Regions from separate parts of the Homo sapiens genome. Here region 2 is linked to region 1. The links are contacts of gene promoters, found by promoter capture Hi-C in human tissues and cell types (Jung and others, 2019). All regions are on one chromosome and are shown on one strand. The core of a region is centred on a gene start or on the middle of the fragment in contact, and the rest is flanking DNA. Distances in the headings are between cores, read along the strand shown. Region 1 holds the start of MRPS24 (mitochondrial ribosomal protein S24). Region 2 overlaps COA1 (cytochrome c oxidase assembly factor 1).

Evidence for each region. Contacts are between HindIII fragments. The study calls those that stand out against the background at their distance.
Region 2: a fragment that was not itself captured here is called in contact with the fragment with the promoter of MRPS24 in region 1 in 1 of the 25 tissues and cell types used here (liver).

The regions. Positions count from the first base shown.
Region 1 is chr7:43,867,982-43,873,281 of GRCh38, reverse strand. It overlaps MRPS24 (mitochondrial ribosomal protein S24), which reads left to right and starts at 3,765. Exons shown (of 4, transcript NM_032014.3): 1 at 3,765-3,825; 2 at 3,906-3,974; 3 at 4,208-4,319. The coding sequence starts at 3,787. URGCP-MRPS24 (URGCP-MRPS24 readthrough) reads left to right here. Exons shown (of 7, transcript NM_001204871.2): 5 at 3,906-3,974; 6 at 4,208-4,319. The coding sequence ends at 4,296. It overlaps LOC124901620 (a long non-coding RNA gene), which reads right to left and starts at 3,636. Exons shown (of 2, transcript XR_007060296.1): 1 at 2,448-3,636; 2 at 1,640-2,334. RefSeq lists silencers at 1,191-1,366, 3,634-3,693, 3,994-4,053 and an enhancer at 3,284-3,403. The HindIII fragment of the contact is 19,139 bases long and covers 1-5,300 here.
Region 2 is chr7:43,702,260-43,707,524 of GRCh38, reverse strand. The region is part of intron 1 of COA1 (cytochrome c oxidase assembly factor 1); the gene reads left to right. Among named protein-coding and RNA genes, the nearest start is that of COA1, 25 kb to the left of the region's middle. The HindIII fragment of the contact is 9,314 bases long and covers 1-5,265 here.

The sequences.
Region 1 (5,300 bases), core at 2,516-5,015:
CTAGATCTAGCAGTTTCTGGGAGCCAGGGAGTGGCAGTCTCAGGGGCTGGAGCTCATGAGCCCATCCCTCGGTCTTCTCTTTCTTGAGTCCGCACCCCCTCTATCCTAAGCACCAGTTTGGCTTCTTCAGGTTCTGACTTTTAGCCCAGGGTTCTGGTGTGGCACTGGGCATTTCTAATTGCCCATAGCTCTGATAACAGGGGAGTGGATTCCTTGGGACCGCAAAGCTGATGTCAGTAATTATAGCTGGGGACCTCACCCACCAAACCCAGCCCTTGTGCCTCACCAGAAGGAGAACAGAGGTGGGGGGATGGAGCAGGAGCTCACAGGGAAAACGGCTGAGCTGTCTTGGCAATCTGGTTTGACACGCCTCTCTGCTTTACTCATAGGGTTTCAGTTGTTTGACCTATTTCTCAGAATAGAGCTGAGAGCCTCTGGGATTTTTCCTAGTGAACGAGTTATTAGGAAAAAAAGAATCACAAGGAATAATGTAAAAACCATAGGTTTACAAAGTGTAAAGTGTCAGCAGTTCTGAGTTAGGATAAGTCAGCTGTAAAGAGAACCACCATGAGTGGAGTGATATCGGCTCACCCTGCAGCCAACAGGAAGGGAGATGTCACCCCACCGCCCCCAGGCTGGATTCTGAAACTCTTCAGGCTCTGGAAGTACAAGGGGGCTGACAGCTCCCTTTTACACAGTGTCTCTCCATGGCCCAGCCAGTGCTGTATCCCCTGAGCACTCTGGGTGAGCCCATGGTGGCTGTGCTGCACCCAACTGGACAGATCATCTCAAAGAAGTCCTGACCTCCCAGCAGACCCCTCCTCCCTTCTTCTGCCCTTGTGACCAAGAGTGGTGGGCGTGGACTATGGCTATGTTCCTTAGAGAGCTGCCATAATCTTCCAGGGGCATCCAACAGCACTCTCCCCGAAAGGGGGCTCTGCAAATACACATTTTGGGAGTCTCCCAAATAAACTGAGTGAGTTCAGGACACTGGTTCTCAGCCCCGACTGCAAATTGAAATCATCTAAGGGGCATTTTAAAAGTGTGAGTGCCTGCCCTCTCCCCACAGAGGTGGTGTGGAACCCAGGGGGCTCTGTCATGCAATTGCAAATCACTGCTTTGAGAGCATAGGAGCAACTTCTGGTTCTTGGTTATTATGTACAGAACAAAGGCTCATGTCAGAGAAAAAGCAGTTTTACATCCCTGTCTCTGCATTAGGCTCCAGGAAGGGTGCAGATGGGTCTTTCACATGGGGTCATATGCTCCTGGCCTTTCCATGTCCAGGCAGTCCTTGAGGGCCACTTGGGAGCTGTCTGCAGCAAGCCACAGAAACCCAGGCCATTCCCTGATCCTAACATGGTCTGAACCCTCACCCCCAGGAAGTGATACTGAAAGAGCACATGCTTTGGAGCAAAAAGGCCTGCTACCATTTACTACTTCTGTAACCTCAGGTGAGTCTGTGAGCCTCCATCTTCTGCTCTGTGAAGCCTGGAAATACTGCCTCCTTTATGGAATTAATAGGAGAAGGAAAGTGCATCAAAACAACAACAAATGGAAGTTACAGAAAAATAAAACATCCCCAGTCAGATTTTTCTGCTGATTATTTAAAACAATATAACATTCATACTGATGTATAAAAGTCATTTTAAGTAATTTTAATCATGTAAAGACCGACACGTCCCCTTTCCCCCAATCACAGTATAAACAAAGCTAATAAAGGATAGATAACAAGATATTTGAACCCCAGAAATGTCTGCCACTGAAATGGCCATTGTGATGCTTGGAAAGATCTAGATCGGTTTGGAATTCCAGAGAGAGATCTCAGGCATAAGGGAGAATGGCTTGAATAGAGGAAAGCATAAATTTGATCATTTGATTGCCTACTGCTTTATGGGCTAAACTTGATTCCCAACCACAGCCTTCGTGGTGTGGCCCCTGCCCACCTTGGGCCCCAATAGGTGTTGTGCCATTGCCACCTCTGCCTCTGATCAGCCCAAGGATCTTGTTTCCCTTTCTCCTTCCCCTTTCCTCTGATTAGGGTGGTGTTGCTATGAGTTCTCACAGAACCCTCAATAGCTGGCTCATCTCCCTAACGGGATATGTGGCTATCAGGGACTCGTTAAAAACAACAACAAAACCCACAACTGCTCTCTCCCTCTGCCAGGCACATCATACTGTACTTCTCACAACCACCATTATTGTCCCCAGTTTACAGATGAGAGAAACCGAGGCTCAGAAGGTTCAGTCACTTGTCCAAATTACACAGCCAGGAAGCATTGGGTCCACGATTTGGACTCAGGCAATTCAGATGCCACATCCCATGTTCCTCACCACCTTGGAGCAAATTAATGAAACTTAACAATTATAAAATTATTGAACATTATGAAAACTTTAAAAAATAATTGTCAGTTGAAAAGGATTTCTTAGGAAATGTTGAAAGTTCTTACATTTGCAAAGTATGCATTGGAGGGCACCTCATCCCTGTTCTGTCCCTTTATTCAATATGCATAACAGTTGGGGGCCGCAGTTCCTAAAAAGTAAGAATAAAACATTTCTGGTGAAGTGGACATGGAAGACCTTGTCCTTTTATTACGGGTTTTTTGAGAACCCACCTTCATGTAATCAGAGGAATCTTGGTCATGGGAAATGGGCTGGACTGAAGTCAAGAGACTTGTGTCTTGGTCCCTCTTTCCCTCTTCTCAGTGTGGTCATGGGCAACTCATTTCCACCGTTCTTCCATTTCCCCTTCCCATGGATCATAATCCAGTCCTCCCCCTGACAGGAAACCGCAGCAGTATGCAAGTACTGTACCATTAAGGGGAATGATGTAGACCCAGAACGGCCAAAACATTGGCAATTTCACATCACTCAACCAAACACAACCCATCATTGATTAAATATTCTCTTGATCCTAATAGCTCTATAAGGTAGTACTATTATTAAGGCCCATTTTATAGATAATAGAACTGAGTCTTAACTGTACAAAGATTGTTATACATGGGTCTGACTCCAGAGCCCGTGTTTTTTCCATGACCGTGGTGACTTCTAAAATAAAATATCCCGCGTTGCTATTTTTCCGTTTGACATTAATAATTACTGGATACCAATAATAGTGGCGACGCACTGGTTTCAGCATTACAGGCCCTGCGATATTCTCACGAATCTCCTTGCCCTCCGGCCCCTTCCCCGTACTTAAAATTTTCCTTCCTCAGGGGCCAGTCACCACTGTGGTCACATGTGGCAAACCCATTCTTGCATAACTGCGTAAGTCATCCTTGAAGAATTGGGTGACGTTTTAACCAAAATATGTTTCTTCTTTATTTGTGGATAAAAGTCTGGAGGGTTTTTCTGTTTTGTTTTTCTACGAATATTATTTGGAGGCATAACTAGGACCTGGGGAAACGCTTGGCTCCTCTTCGAGCCCCGAGGGTGCAGGTTGGGCAGGGCGGGCTCCGGTGGGCCGCACACCCATCACCCGTACTAGCGTGAGGTTGTCGAAGAGAAAATCTCACGTTTCGCATCCTCAAATTTCCGGATCTGAAACCCTATGCAAGCAGCAACCGCGGGAGAGCGAACAGCGGCGGGATGAGCATTCACAAGGCTGAGCATTCACAGGGCTGCGGGGAAGGCGGGAGTAACAGCTAGCAGCATACCGCGGCCCCGCCCCGCAGAGGCCCTGCCCCGCCCCCGCCAGAGTACAGAGTACGAGCTCCGACTTGGTCTCGTCCGCGGTCGTCCCCACCCCTCAGCGCGCTGTGGTACGTCCCGCGCTCCGCTTGGCCCAAGATGGCGGCCTCCGTGTGCAGCGGGTTGCTGGGGCCACGGGTGAGTGGGGCGACTCGGCAGGTCCCTGCGAGTCGGAGGTGGGGTCCCTAGTTTCCGCCTCACGCGCCCTCCCTCCACAGGTGCTGTCCTGGAGCCGAGAGCTGCCTTGCGCTTGGCGCGCCCTGCACACCTCCCCGGTCTGCGCCAAGGTGAGCACCGCCGGGGCAGGGGCCTGGGGGCCTGGGGGCCGGGGGGCCGGGGGCCGGGGAAGCCGTGCGGGCTGAAGGGGGCGTGTCGCTGGGGTCCGAGGCGGGGCTAGGGTCGGGGCTTAGGGATCAGGGGATTGGGGCCGGGGAACAGTGCCAGCTGACTGGGGGGACATGGCGCGAAGTAGGGGTCTGGATCGGGGATCTCGTGGAGTCACGGCCCCTTTTGCTCCTAGAACCGGGCGGCCCGAGTACGCGTAAGCAAGGGGGACAAGCCGGTGACCTACGAGGAGGCACACGCGCCGCACTACATCGCCCACCGTAAAGGCTGGCTGTCGCTGCACACAGGTGAGCGGACCCCAGGCCTCCAAAAGGAGCACTCAATCCGACTGTCATGTAAACAAAATGAACACGTGTCACAGGTTTTCTTTAACTCAGGAAATAATGCTAGGGTCAGAAATCTATGAAACCAACTCAAGGGAGACATAAAAAAGCAGAGATATATATAGATCAGGATGTTGAAACAAATTTGAAGATGGATGCAAAACTGACTTTTTCCATGGCAGGCAGGGACTCAATTGATCCTCCACTGAACAGAAATTATTTGCATGTCTACAGACAAGAATTATTTTGCATTCCTGTCAGTTATCTGTAATTTACAGAGCTGTAAAATAGCTCAGAGTCAAGGAAAGGAGTGAAACCGTTGCAGAATCTGATAACCCTGAACAGTGTGCTCTAAGGAATGCAGTTTTCCACTAAAGCACAAATTTTTCTCTGTAAATATATACAGACAACCCTCGTTATTCATGAATTCCATATTTTCAGATTCTTCTACTGACTAAAATTTATTTGTAAGCCCCAAATCAACACTCTGGGCACTCTCAAGGTCACTCTGAGATGTGGGTGGAGCTGCCACCCCAGGTGCATGTCCCGAGCTGAGGTCGACAAGGCTCTGCCTAGTTTCAGCTCTCGTACTGTAAAAGGTGTCCTTTTTATGGTCTAGAATCTTTTTTTTTTAATTTGCATTTTCGTGCTTTTTGTTAGTGATTTTGCTGTTTAAAATGGCCTTGCAATGCTGAAGTGCTATCTAGTGTTCCTAAGCGGGAGAAGGCTGTGACGTGCCTTAGGGAGAACATACATGTATTAGAGAATCTTTCTTCAGTCATGAGTTGCTCTTGGCCCTGAATTCAATGTTAGTGAATCTACCATATATATTAAACAAGGTGTCTTTAAACAGAAACACAAAGGAAACTAGGTTATGTATTGATTTGTTAACAAAAATACGGTGCCCAGAGGCTGAAAGGAATCTAACCCTGTATTTCACCTAGG
Region 2 (5,265 bases), core at 1,330-3,829, 160 kb after region 1:
TAATGATTGGAAAGAAGTGGGAAGGAACCAATGGGCTACTGGCAGTCCTCAATTTCTAGGACTCTGGTGGTTACATGGGTGCTTGGTTTGTTTTAATTCATGGGGCTGAACATTTATGTTTTGTGCACTTTTCTTTGTGTGATAGACTTTTAAAAAAAAGAACCACTCAGTTTTTAATACCCAGTAAATATTCAATATGAGATCTTCCTCCTCCTCCATCTAATTTGTAAGTATTTGCATATGCCTTTTGCCCATTAATTTGTTTCAGTCTTGATGTTGTATTTATTAATTTGACTGAACTCTTTAAAGATTACTAGAGACAGTTTTAGCCAGCAAGGCTTTGCCCTTGAAAATTCACTCAGGCTGGAGTGCAGTGGCGTGATCTTGGCTCACTGCAACTTCAGCCTCCTGCAACCTCAGCCTCCTGGGTTCAAGAAATTCTCCTGCCTCAGCCTCCTGAGTAGCTAGCTGGGATTACAGGCACCTGCCACCATGCCCGGCTAATTTTTGTATTTTTAGAAAAGATAGGCATCTCCATGTTGGCCAGGCTGGTCTTGAACTCCTGATCTCAAGTGATCTGCCCACCTCAGCCTCCCAAAGTGCTGGGATTACAGGTGTGAGCCACCATGTCTGGCTTTTTCTTTTTCTTTTTTTTGAGACAAGGTCTTTCTCTGTTGCCCAGGCTGGAGTGCAGTGGTCCTATCACAGCTCACTGCAGCCTCAGCCTCCCAGACTCAAGCAATCCTCCCATCTCAGCCTCTCAAGTAGCTGGGACCTCAGGCATGCACCACCATGCCCAGCTAATTTTTCTATTTTTTTGTGGAGACAGTCTTTCACTATGTTGTCCAGGCTGATTTTAAACTCCTGGGCTCAAGTGACCTGCTGACCTTGCCCTCCTAAAGTTCTGGGATTATAGGTGTGAGCCACTGCACCTGGCTGGGTTTTTTTATTTTTTTATTTTTTTATTTTTTATTTTTTAAGATGTGTTCTTGCTTTGTTACCCAGGCTGGAGTACAGTGCCATGATCTCGGCTCACTGCAGCCTCCGCCTCCTGGCTCAAGTGATTCTCCCACCTCAGCCTCCTGAGTAGCTGGGACCACAGGTGTGTGCCACCATGTCTGGTTAATTTTTGTATTTATTTATTTATTTTTTTGTAGAGATGGGGTTTTGCCATGTTCCTCAGGCTAGTGTTGAATTGAGCTCAAGTGATCTGCCTGCCTCAGCCTCCCAAAGTACTGGGATTACAGGCGTGAGCCACTGCGCCTGGCTTGGATTCTAATATTAATATATACTTTTTTAGCTTTTGAATCAAAATGCTCTAAGTATTTGTGTAAAAGAGATTTTTTTTTTCCAGTAGTGTAGGAGATGAAAACTTTACTTTTATTCAAGTTATGAAAATTGCTTTCATGCTTTATTCTTTAACAATAATTTTGGACAAATAGCAAGATGGCTATCTAGAGGCAGCTAGGAAGAGCCTCTCCCACTGAGACCAGGCCATCAAGTAGGCCAGCACACTCTGAACAGATCTTTGGAAAGAAGGCATTGAGAGTGGACAGAGGGAGGATGCAGATACCAGGCTGAAAGGGGAGGAAGCTGGAAACCCTGCACAGGGTTGCCAAGCACCACGGTTTGTCGGTTTGTCGCTGGCCCTGAGTCGCTCCTAGGGATGGGGTGAGTGAAATTGATGTGGAGTGGCCCACTCTTGCCGCGGACCTCTGGGAGCCTACCTGTGGGAGACCCCATGATTCTCATGAACATCTGAGCTGGCAGGAAGAACTTCCTGGAGAGTTGACAGAGATGGAACTCTAGCCTGCATGGAGCCCAGAGGGTTTGTTGTGGGAACAGTTGCAGTGGAGCATGGCTGTGGATATCCATAACACCATACTCCTCTAGGCAGCTCTAGCCTTTGTTGGCTGCCAGACCTGGACAATAGAGGGCTGGCTTGCTTGTGGAATGGGACCAGTCTGATCTGAGGACCTCCCCCAACTGCCCGTTGCTGGCCTCTGTTAGGGTCCCTCCCTGCCTGGCTGTACCTGCTTGCAGCACAGCCTCAGCTTGCCAGCAGCCATCACTATAGCTTTTTGCCATAAGACCGTATCTGTCCATTGGAGTGCTTTTGCAAATGGACCCAGACCCCTGCCAATGTGCACCTGCCGGTAGCCTTCCCCTGCTGGCACGTGCCCACCTGCAGCCTTCTCCTGCCAGTGTGCATTTGCCCACAGCTTCCCCGTGCCACTCTGCAGGCATGCATGTGCGTGGGAGCCTATTGCTGCCCCACCAGAGTTCTTTTGCTGGCAGCTGCCATCGGAGTGTTGTTGCCAGTGGACCGGGAACATCTCAGCTCCTTCAGAGCAGTAGGTACTTAACCTCAAGGAGCCAGAAAATAAAGCCACAGGCCTGGTCCCAGCACCACAAGGATTAGAGCATGTAGCCCAGGAGTGCTCTGTTGAGCCTTGGCCTCCTGAAAGCATCCACAATGAAGCCAGTTGACTAAACCAAACAAATATTAGTCAAACTTTCAGGAGCATCAAAGAATATAAAAAGCAAGAAGTCCCATGCAAAAAGTAACAACTTCAAAGATTACAGGATATCAGCCCACACAGGTAAGAAAGAACCAGTGCAAGAACTCTGGCAACTCTAAAAGCCAGAGTGTTTTTTTAACCTCCAAACGACTGCACTAGCTCCCCAGCAATGGTTCTTAACCGGGCTGAAAAGACTGAAATGACAGACATAGAATTCAGAATCTGGATAGCAAGGAAGCTAGTCGACATAGAGGAGAAGGTTGAAACCCAATCCAGGGAACACAGTAAGAGTGCAAGAGTTGAAAGACCACAAAGCCATTTTAAGAAAGAACCAAACTGAACTTCCAGAAATGAAAATTTACTACAGGAATTTCAGAATGCAATTGGAAGTGTTAATAACAGAATAGATCAAGCTGAGGAAGGAATCTCAGAACTTGAAGACTGCTCCTTTGAATCAATGCAGGTAGACAAAAATGAAAAAAGAGTTAAAAAATGAACAAAACCTCCAAAAAATATGGGATTATGTAAAGAGACCAAACCTGTGACTCATTGGCATTCCTGAAAGAGATGGGGGGAGAGCAGTGACTTGGAAAACATAATTGAGGATATCTTCCGTGAAAATTTCCCCAACCTTGCTATAGAGGGACATGCAAATTTAGGAAGTTCAGAGAAGCCCTGTACCATACCCACATACTATACAAGATGACCTTCCCCAAGACACATAGTCACCAGGTTGTCCAAAGTCATCATGAGAGAAAATATCTTCAAGGCAGCTATATAGAAGGTGCAGGCCACATACTAAGGTAGCCCCATCCAGCTAATAGGAGGCCTTTCAGCAGAAACCTTACATGCCAGAAGGGATTATATTCAGCATCCTTAAAGAAAAGAAATTCCAAGCAAGAATTTTATGTCTGGCCAAACTAAGCTTTATAAGCGAAAGAAAAATAAAATCCTTTTCAGGCAAGCAAATGCTAAGAGAATTTGTTACCAGCAGACTTACAAGAGGTCCTTAAGGGAGTGCTAAACATGGAAATTAAATACTGGTACCTGCCACCACAAAAACACACTTAAGTACATAGCCCACTGACACAATAAAGCAAGTATATTATCTACATAACAACTAGCTAATAACATGACAGGATGAAATTCTCACATAGCAATATTAACCTTGAATGTAAATGACCTACTTAAAAGAGTGGCTAATTGGATAAAGAAGCAAGACCCAACTATATGCTGTTTTCAAGAGACTCATCTTGCATGCAGTGACATCCATAGGCTCAAAGTGAAGGGATGGAGAAAGACCTGTCAAGTAAGCAAACAGAAAACAAACAAAACAGAGCAGGGATTGCTATTTTTATTTCAGACAAAACCGACTTTAAACCAACAATAATAATAAAAAAGGACAAAGAAGGGCATTACATAGTGGATGATAAAAGATTCAATTCAACTAGAAGATTTAATGATCCTAAATATATATGCACCCAACACTAGAGCACCCAGATTCATAAAACAAATTCTTAGAGACCTGCAAAGAAACTTAGATGACCACACAACAATAGTGGGAGACTTCAATACCCTGCTGACAGTGTTAGAGCATCAATGCAGAAAACTAATAAAGATATTTGGGACCAAAACTTGACACTTGACCAAATGGACCTAACAGACATCTACAGAATACTTCACCCAACAAAAACAGAATATACATTCTTCTAATTTATACATGGTACCTATGCTAATATTGACCACATGCTTGGCCATAAAGCAATTCTAAAACAGACAAAAACCGAAATCATGCTAACCACACTGTCAGACCACAGTGCAATAAAAATAGAACTCAATACCAAGAAGATCCCCAAACCATACAATTACATGGAAATTAAACAGCCTGTTCCTGAATGACTTTTGGGTAAAGAATGAAATTAAGGCAGAAAAATATTTGAAACTAATGAAAACAAAGACACAACATACTAGAATCCTTGGGACACAACTAAAGGTTAAGAGGAAAGTTTATAGTGCTAAATGCCTACATCAAGAACTTAGAAAGATCTAAAATTAATGACCCAACACCACACCTAGAGGAACTCTAGAAAAACAAGAGCAAACCAACCTCAAAACTAGCAGAAGAAAAGCGATAACCAAAATCAGAGCTGAACTGATTGAGACATGAAAATCCATACAAAAGACCAACGAAACCAAAAGTTGGTTCTTTGAAAGAATAAATAAGATTGATAGATTGCTAGCTAGTTTGATAAAGAGAAAATCCAAATAAACACAATCAGATACGACAAAGGTGACGTTACCACCAACCCCACAGAAACACAAAAACCCTCAGAGACTATTATGAACACCCCTATGTAGAGAAACTAGAAAACCTAGAATAAATGGATAAATTTCTGGAAACATACAACCCCCCAAGATTGAACCCAAAAATGGCTAAAGCAATCCTAAGCAGAAAGAACAAAGTTGGAGGCATCATATTATCCGACTTCAAACTATGCTACAAGGCTACAGTAACCAAAACAGCATAGTACCAGTAGAAAGACAGACACATAGACCAATGGAACAGAATAGAGAGCCTGGAAATAAAGCTGCATACCTACAATCATCTGATCTTCAACAACGTTGACAACAGTAAGCAATGGGGAAAAGAGTCCCCTATTCAATAGATAGTGCTGGAATAACTGGCTCGCCATATACAGAGCAATGAAACTGGACCCCTGCCTTTCATCATATACAAAAATTA